Linked DNA regions of Homo sapiens: region 2 is linked to region 1. The links are contacts of gene promoters, found by promoter capture Hi-C in blood cells and fetal thymus (Javierre and others, 2016). All regions are on one chromosome and are shown on one strand. The core of a region is centred on a gene start or on the middle of the fragment in contact, and the rest is flanking DNA. Distances in the headings are between cores, read along the strand shown. Region 1 holds the start of IER3IP1 (immediate early response 3 interacting protein 1). Region 2 holds the start of ELOA2 (elongin A2).

Evidence for each region. The method cuts DNA at HindIII sites, captures the fragments that hold promoters and counts their contacts. A CHiCAGO score of 5 or more calls a contact.
Region 2: a contact is called between the fragment with the promoter of ELOA2 here and the fragment with the promoter of IER3IP1 in region 1, in 2 of 17 cell types (M2 macrophages and total B cells). The highest score is 5.7, in M2 macrophages.

Annotation. Positions count from the first base shown.
Region 1 is chr18:47,171,447-47,178,988 of GRCh38, reverse strand. It overlaps IER3IP1 (immediate early response 3 interacting protein 1), which reads left to right and starts at 2,625. Exons shown (of 3, transcript NM_016097.5): 1 at 2,625-2,802. The coding sequence starts at 2,712. RefSeq lists enhancers at 2,457-2,586, 2,597-2,716. The HindIII fragment of the contact is 4,620 bases long and covers 1-4,054 here.
Region 2 is chr18:47,032,219-47,039,760 of GRCh38, reverse strand. It overlaps ELOA2 (elongin A2), which reads left to right and starts at 4,140. Exons shown (of 1, transcript NM_016427.3): 1 at 4,140-7,234. The coding sequence starts at 4,497. The coding sequence ends at 6,758. All of the region lies in intron 3 of KATNAL2 (katanin catalytic subunit A1 like 2), which reads right to left. The HindIII fragment of the contact is 9,917 bases long and covers 2,672-7,542 here.

The DNA.
Region 1 (7,542 bases), core at 1,376-3,875:
CCCGGGTTCATGCCGTTCTCCAGCCTCAGCCTCCCGGGTAGCTGGGAATATAGGTGCCCGCCACCATGCCCGGCTAATTTATTTGTATTTTTAAAAAATAGAGATGGGGTTTCATTGTGTTAGCCAGGATGGTCTAGATCTCCTGACCTTGTGATCCACCCGCCTCGGCCTTCCAAAGTGCTGGGATTACAGGTGTGAGCCACCGCGCCCAGCCTGTTTTGTTTTTTAGACAGGGTCTTGTTCTGTCACCCAAGCTGGAGTGCAATGGCTCAATCTCAGCTCACTGCAACCTCCGTTCCCTGGGTGCAAGTGATCCTCCCACCTCAGCCTCCTTAGTAGCTGGGACCACAGGTGTATACCACTAAGCTGAGGCATTTTTTTTTTTTTTTTGTATTTTTGGTAGAGACAGGGTCTTGCCATGTTCCCCAGGCTGAGAATCTGTAGTTTTTAAGTGGCCAATATTGAGGTGTTGTCAAGAAGAGGGCTCAGCCTGGCGGGATGACCCATTCCTGTAATAGAGTGTATTAGTCAGTATTCTCTAGAGGGACAGAACTAATAGGAGATATATATACAAAGAGGGAGCTTATTCGGTACTATTAACTCACACGATCACAAGATCCCACAATAAGCCGTCTGCAAGCTGAGGAAGCCAGTCTGAGTCCCAAAGCTGAAGAACTTGAAGTCCAACGTTCAAGGGTAGGAAGCATCCAGCATGGGAGAAAGATGTAGGCTGGGAGGCTAAGCCAGTCTACCCTTGTTGAGAGCAAGCCCCCAACAGTCTGGCCATAAACTAGCCCCAAAACTGGCCATAAATAAAATCTCTGCAGCACTATAACATGTCCATAATGGCCCTAACGCCCAAGCTGGAAGGTTGTGGGTTTACGGGAATGAGGGCAAGGAATACCTGGCCCACCCAGGTTGGAAAACTGCTTAAAGGCATTCTTAAGCCACAAACAAAAGCCTGAGAGATCTGTGTCTTAAGGATGTGTTCCTGCTGCAATTAATTCGGCCCATCCCTTCATTTCCCATAAGGGATACTTTTAGTTAATTTAACATCTATAGAAACAATGCTAATGACTGGTTTGCTGTTAATAAATACGTGGGTAAATCTTTGTTCGGGGATCTCAGCTCTGAAGGCTATAAGACCCCTGATTTCCCACTTCACACCTCTGTGTGTGTCTTTAATTCCTCTAGCACCGCTGGGTTAGGGTCTCCCCAACCGAGCTGGTCTTGGCATACCCTTTTCATTGGTTTTTTGCCTGCTTTATATCCTGGCCACTCCAGCAGCTGATTAGATGGTGCCCACTTGGATTAAGAGTGGACCTGTCTTTCCCAGCCCACTGACTCAAATGTTAATCTCCTTTGGCAACACCCTCACAGACACACCCAGGATCAATACTTTGCATCCTTCAATCCAATCAAGTTGACACTCAGTCTTAACCATCACATACAGCTAAGCAGGAGGCTAAGGCAGGAGGACTGCTCGAGCCAGGAGCTGAAGGCTGCATTGAGCTATGATGGTGCCACTGCACTCCAGCCTGGGCAACAGAGCAAGACCCTGTTCCTGGGGGGGGAAAAAAAAAAAGAAGAGGCTCAGAGGATCTTGGTTGGAGTTTGGTCAAGGAGGGGATGTTTCTCACTGAGTAATTTTAAAACAGTTATTTTGTTTTAGCATTCTGAAATCTGAAATGGGAATATTAGTATCTCCTGTATCTCCTGGGAGCATCAAGTGCAGTACTGAGCAATAGAAATATAATGCAAGCGTCACATGTCATTTACAGTATCTTCATAACCACATTAAATAAAATAATTAAAAATAAACAAGAAACCTTCCTCCCTTCCTTCCTTCTTTCCTCTTGCTCTGTCACCCAGGCTGGATCTCGGCTCACTGCAGTCTCTGCCTCCCGGGTTCAAGTGATTCTCTTCTCTCAGCCTCCTGAGTAGCTGGGATTACAGGAGCCCACCATCACACCCAGCTAATTTTTGTATTTTCAGTAGAGACAGGGTTTTGCCATGTTGGCCAGACTGGTCTCGAACTCTTGACCTTAGGTGATTTGCCCGCCTCGGTTTCCCAAAGTGCTAGAATTACAGGCGTGAGCCACTGCGCCCGGCCTCAAAATATTTTCATTTCAACATGTTATCAACATTTAAAAATTATTGGGAGGCCGAGGAGGGGGGAATCACGAGGTCAGGAGATTGAGACCATCCTGGCTAACACGGTGAAACCCCGTCTCTACTAAAAATACAAAAAATTAGCCGGGCGTGGTGGCGGGCACCTGTAGTCCCAGCTACTTGGGAGGCTGAGGCAGGAGAATGGCGTGAACCCGGGAGTCGGAGCTTGCAGTGAGCCGAGATCGTGCCACTGCACTCCAGTTTGGGCGACAGGGCCAGACTCCATCTCAAAAAAAAAAAAATTATTGGGATATTCTTCATCCTTGTTCCAGTTCCAAGTGTGTGAAATCCGGTGTGTATTTTGCACCTGCAGCACTGGCCACATCAGAGCATTGATTGCACATCACCGGTCTAGACAAGCGGCAGGACTTGCAGTCTTCAGCGAGGGGCGGTTCTTAGCCAGATGGAGGCGGGGCTTCCCGGAGAGTTCGTTTTGGGCCCCATCGGCTTCCGTAGGAAGGCGCCGGCCGTGGAGGCGCCACGTCCCTTGCGGCGGCGGGAGAGAAATCGCTTGGACTTCGGGGCGGCCTCGGACGGCCATGGCCTTTACCCTGTACTCACTGCTGCAGGCAGCCCTGCTCTGCGTCAACGCCATCGCAGTGCTGCACGAGGAGCGATTCCTCAAGAACAGTGAGTGGGACCGCGGGGCGCGGGCTGGGGCGGCGGCGGAGTCCCCGGGGGCGCGTAACCTAATGGGGCCGCGTGAGGGGACACCAAGGGCCGGGACAGAAGAACAGCGGAAGGCTCGGCTTGGAGTGGAAGCCGAGCCTTTCCTCTCATCAGGTTTGGGCTCAACAGCCGGGAGAATATTCAACAGACACCCGCTGTGCAGGGCCCAGGGGGTTGGGGTGGAGGGATATAGAAGTCAGTCAGGGACGCCTCTGCTTGCGATTACTTCAGGTCAGTAATTTAATTCAGTTTTCTGTGACTACTTTTTTTTTTGAGGGGGAGTCTCGCTCTTTTGCCCAGGCTGAAGTGCAGTGTCGCGGTCCTGTGACTACTTTTAATAGTCGAAAACCCGGGGTCTGAGTTTCGGGCTAAGAGTTGGGGGTGTGGGGCCGGGCGCGGTGGCTCCCGCCTGTAATCCCAGCACTTTGGCAGGCCGAGGCCGGCGGATCATGATGTCAGGAGTTTGGGACCAGCCTGGCCAACATGGTAAAACCCCGTCTCTACTAAAAATACAAAGATTAGCCGGACGTGGTGGTGGAAATACAAAAATTAGCCGGGCGGGAGGCTGAGGCAGGAGAATCACTTAAACCTGGGAGGCAGAGGTTGCAGTGAGCCGAGATTGCGCCATTGCACTCCAGCCTGGGCAATAGAGTGAGACTCCGTCTAACAAAACAAAACAAACAAAACAAAACGAGTTGGGTGTGGAGGGGAAGGAGGCGTGACCCATTTTGGAGCATCAGTAGTTCACTAACTGATGGAAGGCAATAAGTGTTCCTGGGCTTTAGGAATTACAGGAAGGGAACGTGTTGGAGTTATCAGGACATTCAGACACTCATGTTCCAAGAAAAGTTTATTCAGATAGCTTATTGGGTGCATAGAGTGTGCCAAAAACTCTGCTAGAATTTAGAAATTCAAAAATGAAAACACAAGTTATACCTTCCAGGACCTCACGTTGTGTACCAAGTATGCCCGTTTGAATCACTGAAACGTAAACCCAGGAGCAAGATTGATTCATTTCATTTACTTCAGAAGATATTTATTGAGTGCAAAGTATGTGCCAGGCCCATTTATAGTAACTGAAGTTACAGCAGCTACTCTGCCCTTCTGATGGAAGTTAATCTAAATAAAAACTAAACAAATGACAATAACAAGTATAGAGAGTATTATGTAAGAGAAGTACGGGCAGATACTAACTTGTGTATCTGCGAAAGCTTCTTGGAGGAAGCGTGTCTAACCTGAAATCTGATACATGAGTAAACATTAACTCGGTGAAGGTGAAGGGTTGGGAGGAGCTGGAAGGGTGAGGAGAGCTTTAAGCAGTGTAGACCTGGTGTGAAAACTGAGGCAGGTGAGAAGAGGGTCTTAAGACAGCGACATGACCAGATTTGTGTTATTTGCAAGATCCTTGAGGCTACAATACGGAGGAAAGATTGGAAGGGAAAGCAGTGGATGTGGGAAGACCCATTTTTTTTTTTTTTTGAGACGGAGTCTCACCCTGTCCCCCCGGCTGGAGTGCAGTGGCGCAATCTCGGTTCACTGCATCCTCCGCCTCCCAGGTTCAAGCGATTCTCCTGCCTCAGCTTCCCGAATGGCTGGGATTACAGGCACGCACCACCAAGCCTGGCTAATTTTTGTATTTGTAGTAGAAATGGGGTTTCACCATGTTGGTCAGGCTGGTCTCGAACTCCTGACCTCGTGATCTGCCCACCTCGGCCTCCCAAGGAAGAACAATTCTAAATAGGGCAAGTAGATACAAGTGGGTATGACAACAATAATAATAGCTAATACTTACGTAGCACTTACGTACAGGATCTGTATCAAGTGCCTTACATATATTAACTGGTGTAGCCTTCACAGCAACTCTATGAGAGAGTTTCTGTTTTCCAGTGGAAAACTAGAATCACAAAGAGAGTAGGTGGCTTTTGTAAGAACACACAGGTAGAAAGTAGAAAGTGGTGGAGCTAGGATTCAAATGTCATCTTCCAGAGTTCATCTGTTCACCGCTATCCAGAAAAGTAGAAGGGATCAAGTTGGGGTTTGAATTGTGTCCCTCAAAAAGATGTGTTGAAGTCCCAACCCTTGATACCTATGAAGGTGACCTTGTTTGGAAACAGAGTCTTTGCAGATATAATCAAGTTAAGATGAGATCATACTGGGTTAGATTGAGGGCTTTAGAGCCAATGACTGGTGCCCTTATAAGAAAAGAGAGATTTGGAGACACACAGATGCACACGCAGAAGATCATGTGACAACTGAGGCAGAGATTGGAGTGATGCATATATAAGACAAGGTATACCAAGGATTTCCAGCAACTACTGGATGTTAAGAGAGAGGCATGGATGAGATTATCCCTCAGAGCCCCCCAGAAGGAACCAACCCTGCTTACGCCTTGATTTCAGACTTTTAGCCTCCAAAATTATGAAAAAATTTCTGTTAAGCCACCCAGTTTGTGCTGCTTTGTTATGGCAGCCCTAGGAATTTTATGTGGATCAAAAGATATTTTAAAAGTAGAGGCTGGGCATGGTGGCTCATGCCTAGCACTTTAGGAGGCCAAGGTGGGCAGATCACTTGAGGTCATGAGTTTGAGACCACTCTGGACAACATGGTGAAACCTGTCTCTACTAAAAATACAGAAATTAGCAGGGTGTGGTGGTGGGCGCCTGTAATCCCAGCTACTCTGGAGGCTTAGGCAGGAGAGTCACTTGCCTGGGAAGCAGAGGTTGCATTGAGCTGAGATCACGCCACTGCACTCCAACCTGGGTGACAGAGCAAGACTATGTCTCGAAGGAAGAAAAAAAAGGTATAAAAGGCAGAATTTACTCTTGGACTTTGGGAATAAGAGTGGATGAAGTCAAAGATCTCTTGGCCCTCTGGGTTAAGCCACTGAGTGAAGGGTAATACCTTTACTGAGTTAAACAGTATTGGAGGAAAATTTGGGGTGATGGTGCTAGGTAAGAAGGTGAAGATATAATGAAATAAATTTTAGTCATGCTCAGTTTGAGATTTCTATGAGATACGCAAGTGGAGATGTAAAATAGCCAGTTGCATTTAAATCCATAGAACAGCAGCACGAATTAGGGCGGAGATTGAAATTTGAGTTTGTCAAGCATAGATAATAAATGAAGTCATGTGAGAAGATGAAATTATGAAAGAAAACAGTAGAGTACAAAAAGAATTGGTGCCCCAGACAGCCCTAGAATCTCCTCTAGTATTTATTGTTTAGGTAGAGATGGAAGAACTGACAGGAGAACTTGACAAGTGAGCAAAACAGAGAGATGGAAAAACCTAGACAGTGGGATTTCACCAGAGTCAGGAAGTGTTTGAAGAGATACTACAACAGTGGGATGTTACTGAGTAGCTTAGTACAGTAGTCCCCCCTCATCTGTGGTTTGTCTTTCCACACTTTTCAGTTGTAGCCTGCCATCTGAAAGTACTAATTGGAAAATTGCAGAAATAAGCAATTCATGTTTTAAATTGCAAGCTGTTCTGAGTAGCGTGATGAATCCTGTATCATGAGGACATGAATCTTCCCTTTGTCCAGCATATGCACATTGTATATGCTACCCACCTATTAGTCACTTGGTTATCAGATTGAAAAAAATACACTACATATACGGTTGGGTACTATCTTCTGTTTCAGGCATCTACTGTGGAATCTTGAAGTGTATCTCCAAGATTAAGGGGGAGGACTACTGTAAGTTAAGGACTGAAAAGAATCCTGATTCAGGGTAGTGGAGGTCATTGGTGATTTTATAAGAGCAATTACAGCAGTGGGTAAAATCCAGATTGGAATGGATTGGGAAGTGAGTAGAAAGTTATAAAATGGAGACAGTAATATTATCCAATGTTATCTTTAAGTTGGAGGAAAAGAAGAAAAGGTAGCTTGAAGGGATATGGGGGTGTGTTTTATGGTGGTGGTTTTGTTTTTAGAGCTTGAGGTATCTCAGCAGTGACAGTGAAAACTAGCCCTGTCTCTTCAACAAGTCAGCACTATGAAGAGAGTGGAGGAGGGGATGATCAGTGAGGCATATACACAAAATGTTTTCTAAGAAAGACCAAAACAGAAGGCCCAGCACCGTGGCTCATGCCTGTAATCCCAGCACTTTGGGAGGCCAAGGTGGGCGGATCACTTGAGGTCAGGAGTTCGAGACCAGCCTGGCCAACGTGGAGAAACCCCGTCTCTACTAAAAATACAAAAAATTAGCTGGGTGTGGTGGCACCCAGCTACTGGGGAGGCTGAGGCAGGAGAATGGCTTGAACCCAGGAAGCGGAGGTTGGAGTGAGCTGAGATCCCACCACCACCCTACAGCCTGGGCGACACAGTGAGACCCTGTCTCAAAAAAAAAGACCAAAAAAGAGAAATGTCAGTCTGCTAAATCTCAGAACAGTAATAGTCTCTGTCATTTGAGCCACAACCTGCTCTCGCAGCCTCCACAAAAAAAAAGCAAAAGGAAGGAAGTAATAAAGATTACAGTGAAAGTTAATGAAATACATAGTAGAAAAATACTAGAATTAACAAAACCAAAAGCTGATTCCTTGACAAAATTGACAAGTCTTTAGCTAGACTGACTAGACTCAAGTAAATGGGAAATCCGAATAGACCTATAACATACAAAGAGAGATAATGAATAATTTAAAAACTTCTCATGAAGTCAAGCCTTCAGCATTGCTTTCTACCAAACATTTAAAGAAGACTTAATA
Region 2 (7,542 bases), core at 2,891-5,390, 140 kb after region 1:
CTATCCTTCACTAGAAGCATTTGCTTCTTCCTAATTGAAACATGTACTTGTGCAAATGTTCTCTAGGACTAGGTCACTGAGAAAAAGTAGCTAGTGTTCTGTGTGCTCCTCAGTACTGGATCCACTGCACTGGGTTTGGCTGAATTTCTTAAAGATGAGGAGGGTCAATTACACTATATTATAGAAATACTCCATGTGTGCACAGACATGCATATACCCAGAGGAAGACCCTCATTAGTGGGATGAAAAACTCATTAGGGAAAACTCATTAGATTTATTAGAGGAACAGAAAAAAAAAGATCCTGGAAGAAACATTTAAAAGCAGGGAGGAGAGGACTGGGGAGGATGGGAGAACTGCAGGAGGCAGTGGGTGGAGGGGATGGCAGGTAAAGGGTACAGAATTTCTCTTTGGGCTAATGAAAAGGTTCTAAAATTGATCAAGGCAATGGAAGTATATCTCTGTGAATATCTTGAAAGCCATGGAATTGTACATTTTAAATGGTGAGTTGTAAGGTATATGAATAAAGATATTTTAAAATGCAAAATGTGGGAGAGGGGCAGAGAAAAGAAGGCTTAAATAAATGTAAATAATTTAAGTAAAATTGTGGCTTGATATATAAAATAAATAGTCTAACTGAAAATATAAATCATTATATGCAATATTTTGAAGCTATTCAAGATGGAAATGATGGGGGTAAAAGAACTGGTTATCACACACAGCACCATGAGGGCCTGCTTTTTCAGCCCCCAGACAGAGCCTGTTTCTGCTTTGGAGTGTAGCAATGACACTTTATTACTACCCAGCCTTGCTCTATCAGTGTGACTACAGGAGTAGACTTACTGAACAGAAGAGTAATACAGGCATTTCTGTGTTCAGAATCTTCACATATTCATTTACAGCAGACATTTCTCTTTGCAGTTTTTCTTGTGGGTTTTATAATAATTTGCAATATATATACAAGTTGAAGAAACCACCTTAACTATTGTCTATACTTCTTCAGTTTTTTGGTACAAAAATAAGCTTCTTTCAATAAGACTCTCAAATTTTTTAAAGTGCAGCTATTTTTTACATTTTTACATCCAGATTTGGTAAGGTATTGAAAGAATATTGTATTTCAGATACAATTGGTGGGAATGTAAGTTGGTACAACCCTTTTGCAGAGCAAATTGACAAAATCTATCAAAGAGAAAAATGCGCATACCTGTCGACCCAGCAATATCACTCAGCAATTTATACTCTAGAGGATCAATTACACTATATTATAGAAATACTCCATGTGTGCACATACATGCACATACACAGAGGCAGAAAAATACAGTTTATTTTCTACTACCCACAGGTAGGATAGTGAGTTTCATAGCAACCCTAATAAAAGCAAGTTGGAACATTTGTCAGAATTATTTCCTTCAAACTCCTTTTTAGAATCCCTGGAGAGTCATTTAAACAGTGAACCACTGACCTAATTAACACAGTTAATCAGGATAAATAAGAAAGCAAAAGCTCTAATTCTTGAGACAGAGGTCTAATTCTTAATCCTAAACAAATCTGAGCAATGTTGATCATACTTTTGAAAGAATAGCCTAAAAGACAGGCTTACTCAGGGTTTTCATTACATTTCTGCAAAATGGCAGGTACTTCAACTCCAATCAAAAGAATTTCCACTTTTTTTTTATTAGAATCACAGTTTGCAAAAGAGTCGATGTCTATAATGGGGATTGGCTGAGTCCTTTAGAACTCTGTCTGGTAATGAGGCTGCATCAAAAATGGCTTTTCATGGTCGGGCACTGTGGCTCACTCCTGTAATCCCAGCAATTTGGGAGGCCAAGGTGGGAGGATCACTTGAGCCCAGGAGTTTGAGAGCAGCCTGGGCAACATAGGGAGACTCCCATCTCTAATAAAAAAAAAAAAATGGCTTTCCTACTATGTGGACTGTGAAGCAGCTTTTACTTGTGGTGACCAGGTCTTAAAATAATAATGTGATTTTTATTTTGTGGTAAGAGTGATAAAAATTCAGAATTCAGTAAGAGTAAAGCAGGAAAAGAGAGTTTTAAAAACACTATTCCAAATGTAGTGTTAAATATTTAAGATGAGCTTCTGTTACTGAAAACACAGAATGCAGTCTTACAAATTTCTTAATTAAAGGTATAAAGTTGGCCAGATCTACATCTTTCTGCCCAGGCCATTCAAATTAACCTAGAAAATTATCTTCTGAATTAAAAAAAACTAAGAATGAGCCATTCCCCGCAAAAAGGATCCATTTAAACTGTAAGAGATGGTGTGCCCCTGAAATGGACACAATTACATGCTCATTAATTTCTGTGTACAAAGAAAGGAGGCCCAGAAGTGAACATCTAATCTAGGTGTCTCATTTGCATGTTTCAATAATCTGGCTGTTTTTGTTTTCTTTCATTTCCTTTGTGGGCTATTGTGCCACAAATATACCTCCATTATCAAATTCAAAATTGAATCCTATGATACCATAGCCTGAGGAAAAGGAAGCATTGAATATCATTCCCAGTTTTAGACCCAGAAGATATTTAGGAAATGTTACTGTATATACACCACATGCAACATTAGTGCTTTTAATTTCCTTTTTACGGGTGCAATGGAGATTAATTTGCATGAGCTCGTTTCAATTTCAGTAATAAGATCCAAATTTTGCATTAAGCTTTCAATCTCAAAAACAAACAGTTAAAAAGCATACATCACTTCTTTCAAATGTCTTTACTATACTTCTGTTTTACAGTCCCTGCATCTAATATTCCCCTAAAAGGTTGAATATATATACCTGTAGGTTCTAATTTGTTTCTTGTTTGTTTCCTGACTATCTCCTGGCTCTGCCAGGAAACTTCCTAACTTTCAAATGCTGTACAACCCAAAAAAATGCTAGAAATATCAAAAGAAGTGTCTACAGATCCAGAAAAGACATTTATTGAATTTAATACAATGTCAGAATTGGTCAACTATGCTCAGAAACATAGGACCAAGTGTTCCCTAATTTGAGAGGGTAAATAAGTAACAACAGAAATAAGAGAAAAAACCATAGATATTTCAAATGATCCTGTTTTAATAATTGTCACTGAAAATTAAAGTCCGATCCAGATACCAAATCTGTTTCAACAATAATAGCTAGAGACAAGAGTAAAAATTTCTTTAAAGTTTTAAAACAGGTGGAAGAAGATCCAGAAATATTTATTCCAAGATTTGTAAGCGGGGATAAAACATGGCTACACTGGATAGTCCTGAAGAAAGAGCACAAAACAAAGGCTACCAAAAGGTGGCAGCACTCCAGTCAAAGACAGAGAGGACCAGTCAAGAGAAGAGGTCATGGCAACAGTTTTGGGGAATGCTCAAAAGATATGACTAAAAGACTTTTTGAAGGGCCAAACCAAGATCAAATATGCTTACTAACAGAGTTTTTGAGAAAACTAGCCAAAGCATGAGCAGAAAAACCATTACCAGAGAGTTCTACCTAATCATGAAAAAGTTCTTGCTGTAGCATTTCACTGAACAAAGGGCAGTTTGGCAAGAGTTTCAAAAGGAGATCATGAGGCGTCCACCTTGCAGTCATGATGTGGAACCTGCTGACTTCTATTTATTTCCTCGTATTAAAAATTCTGCAAACGGCACCCAGTTTTCTTCAGTTAATAATGGAAAAAAGATTTCTTGGAAATAGTTAAATTCCCAGAAACATCAGGGCTTGAGGGACAAGGCGGGGTCAAGACAGTGCTCGAACTACTGTCTCGAAATTGATGGAGCAGATGTTAAGAAATAAAATCTACCGGTTTTATTTTTGTCTTTTAATCCCTGTTTTGACAAATTTGGGAAGTCCCCTCACACAACATCAGTCCTAGGCAAAGAGTTGTTATCCTGTATTGGTTCTTCTTTCTATGATTTTGTCTTGCTGTGTTATTTTCTGTTTTACTCCCAAGAAGATTCAGTCTGTGTTTTTTGGAATTCACAGATGTGGAACCTGCGAACATGGAAGGTCAACGGTAAAACTCAGTGGGGTGTGTCGAGGCTGAAATTAACCTAATCAACCTCTGGGGCACAGCAGTCCACCTGGCGTGGACCGTCCCGATTGTCTGCATTGTGCTGACGGCATGAGTACGTATGGGGGCGGGGCAGCCCAAGAGCTAAGAGGGTCAGGGCTAGAGCCGTGAGTGTCAGCCTGGGATGGGCTACATAAGGCCCAGCTCTGGCACCAGAGCTTCATTCTTTGTTGCACAGCAAACTGCAGAGGTCACTCCAGGCTGTGGCTCCACATCCCGAGGAACAAAAGCGGGCCTGCTCAGCTGTCTGCAAGGACGGCCGTTCCAGACCAAGTGGCCTGCTGCTCCGAGGACCCAGCTCGCTCCAGGCTGTGACTCCACATCCCGAGGTCGCTGCCTGGCGACCGGGCAGCGAGGACCGGCCACCCCAGACTTCCTGTCCCGCAGCCCCAAAGACAGAGCTGCGACCGCCGGGACAGCGACGCCTGCACAGCTCTGGTGAGATGGCGGCAGGGTCCACTACGCTGCACGCAGTGGAGAAGCTGCAGGTGCGTCTGGCCACTAAGACGGAGCCGAAAAAGCTAGAGAAATATTTGCAGAAACTCTCCGCCTTGCCCATGACGGCAGACATCCTGGCGGAGACTGGAATCAGAAAGACGGTGAAGCGCCTGCGGAAGCACCAGCACGTGGGCGACTTTGCCAGAGACTTAGCGGCCCGGTGGAAGAAGCTGGTGCTCGTGGACCGAAACACCCGGCCTGGCCCACAGGACCCTGAGGAGAGCGCTTCCCGACAGCGCTTCGGGGAGGCTCTTCAGGACCAGGAAAAGGCCTGGGGCTTCCCAGAAAACGCGACGGCCCCCAGGAGCCCATCTCACAGCCCTGAGCACAGACGGACAGCACGCAGAACACCTCCGGGGCAACAGAGACCTCACCCGAGGTCTCACAGTCGCGAGCCCAGAGCTGAGAGAAAGTGCCCCAGAATAGCCCCAGCTGATTCCGGCCGCTATCGGGCCTCTCCAACGCGCACAGCTCCCCTCCGGATGCCCGAGGGCCCTGAGCCCGCTGCGCCCGGGAAGCAACCCGGAAGAGGCCACACTCACGCGGCTCAGGGCGGGCCTCTGCTGTGTCCAGGCTGCCAGGGCCAACCCCAGGGGAAAGCCGTTGTGAGCCACAGCAAGGGGCACAAATCGTCTCGCCAGGAAAAACGCCCCTTGTGTGCCCAGGGAGATTGGCACTCCCCTACTTTGATCAGGGAGAAATCATGCGGGGCCTGCTTAAGAGAGGAAACCCCAAGGATGCCCTCCTGGGCAAGTGCCAGGGACAGGCAGCCTTCGGACTTCAAGACAGACAAGGAAGGGGGGCAAGCTGGCAGCGGCCAGCGTGTCCCTGCCTTGGAGGAGGCTCCAGACAGTCACCAGAAGAGGCCTCAGCACAGTCACTCGAACAAGAAGAGGCCCAGTCTAGACGGCCGGGACCCAGGAAATGGGACACACGGCCTGTCGCCCGAGGAGAAAGAGCAGCTTTCCAACGACCGAGAGACTCAAGAGGGGAAGCCACCGACTGCTCATTTGGACAGAACGTCCGTGAGCTCCCTCTCTGAGGTGGAGGAGGTAGATATGGCTGAGGAATTCGAGCAGCCCACTCTGTCATGTGAAAAATACCTCACCTACGATCAGTTGCGGAAGCAAAAGAAAAAGACTGGAAAATCTGCCACCACTGCACTTGGAGATAAACAAAGGAAAGCAAACGAATCCAAGGGCACTCGTGAGTCCTGGGATTCGGCTAAGAAATTGCCTCCTGTCCAGGAAAGCCAGTCAGAGAGGCTGCAGGCGGCCGGCGCTGATTCCGCCGGGCCGAAAACGGTGCCCAGCCATGTCTTCTCAGAGCTCTGGGACCTCTCAGAGGCCTGGATGCAGGCCAACTACGATCCGCTTTCGGATTCTGACTCCATGACCTCCCAGGCAAAGCCAGAAGCACTCTCTTCACCAAAGTTCCGGGAGGAAGCTGCTTTCCCTGGACGCAGAGTGAATGCTAAGATGCCGGTGTACTCGGGCTCCAGGCCTGCCTGCCAGCTCCAGGTGCCGACGCTGCGCCAGCAGTGTGCCCAGGTGCTTAGAAACAATCCGGACGCCCTCAGCGACGTGGGAGAGGTCCCCTACTGGGTTCTTGAACCTGTTCTGGAAGGGTGGAGGCCCGATCAGCTGTATCGCAGAAAGAAAGACAATCACGCACTCGTTAGAGAGACAGACGAATTACGGAGGAATCATTGTTTCCAGGACTTCAAGGAAGAAAAGCCACAGGAAAACAAAACTTGGAGGGAGCAGTACCTGCGGCTTCCGGACGCCCCAGAGCAGCGGCTGAGAGTAATGACAACGAATATCCGATCTGCACGTGGAAACAACCCCAACGGCAGAGAGGCAAAGATGATCTGTTTCAAATCTGTGGCCAAGACGCCTTATGATACTTCAAGGAGGCAAGAGAAGTCTGCAGGAGACGCTGACCCCGAAAATGGGGAGATCAAGCCAGCCTCCAAGCCCGCGGGAAGCAGCCACACTCCCTCCAGCCAGAGCAGCAGCGGCGGTGGCAGAGACAGCAGCAGCAGCATCCTTCGCTGGCTCCCTGAGAAGCGGGCCAACCCCTGCCTGAGCAGCAGCAATGAGCACGCGGCGCCCGCGGCCAAAACCCGGAAACAGGCTGCCAAGAAAGTGGCCCCGCTGATGGCCAAGGCAATTCGAGACTACAAGAGAAGATTCTCCCGACGATAAACTCAGGACTTGCCTTGCAGATAAAATCTGGGGGGATTTTTGCATTGGCAAAGTCAATGCGGGTTGGGGAACGAAACTTCCAATGGACACCAGAACCTTTAACTTGGTGCAAAGTTGAGCCTTTGAATTCTGCAGGTGTCATGTGCTGGCCCTGTGATTTTGCCTCCCACACCCAGCCACTACCTCCCAGCTTGGAGAACACCTCAGAATTCAGAAGATATGAACGCATTGGGAACAATTCTATTTTGGATGTTCACTGATAATTTTTAAAAACACCCTAGTTGTAATCATAAATAAGGAAAAAGATGTGAGATTTCCTTTTTCCTTTCTTTTTTTTTTCGAAATCAAGTAGATAAGAACTTCTTAGACAAAAACACACAAGCCATTAGTTGACACTGATAACTCCGAATACATAAAATGTTTGCTGTTGCTGCCGTTGTTGTTGTTTTAATAAAAGGCTGAGCATGATCTTGTAATCGTGAGCCATCCTCCTTTGGGAGGTGGAGGAAAGCAGTTCGCTTGAGCCTAGTAGGTGAAGAACAGCCTGGGCAAAATAGGAAAACCCCGTCTCTGCAAAAGATATCAAAACTAGCCTGGCATGGTGGCACGGTCCATGTGGTCCCAGCTTCTTAAAGGGCTGAGGTGGCAGGATTGCCTGAGCTGGGCAAGTAGAGGTTGCAGTGACCCTTCATCATTCCACTGCACTTCAGGCTGGGTGACAGAACCTGAGCATGGCTCAAAGAAAACTGCTATTTCTTAGAAAAAAGGAACTATCGGATTTCAT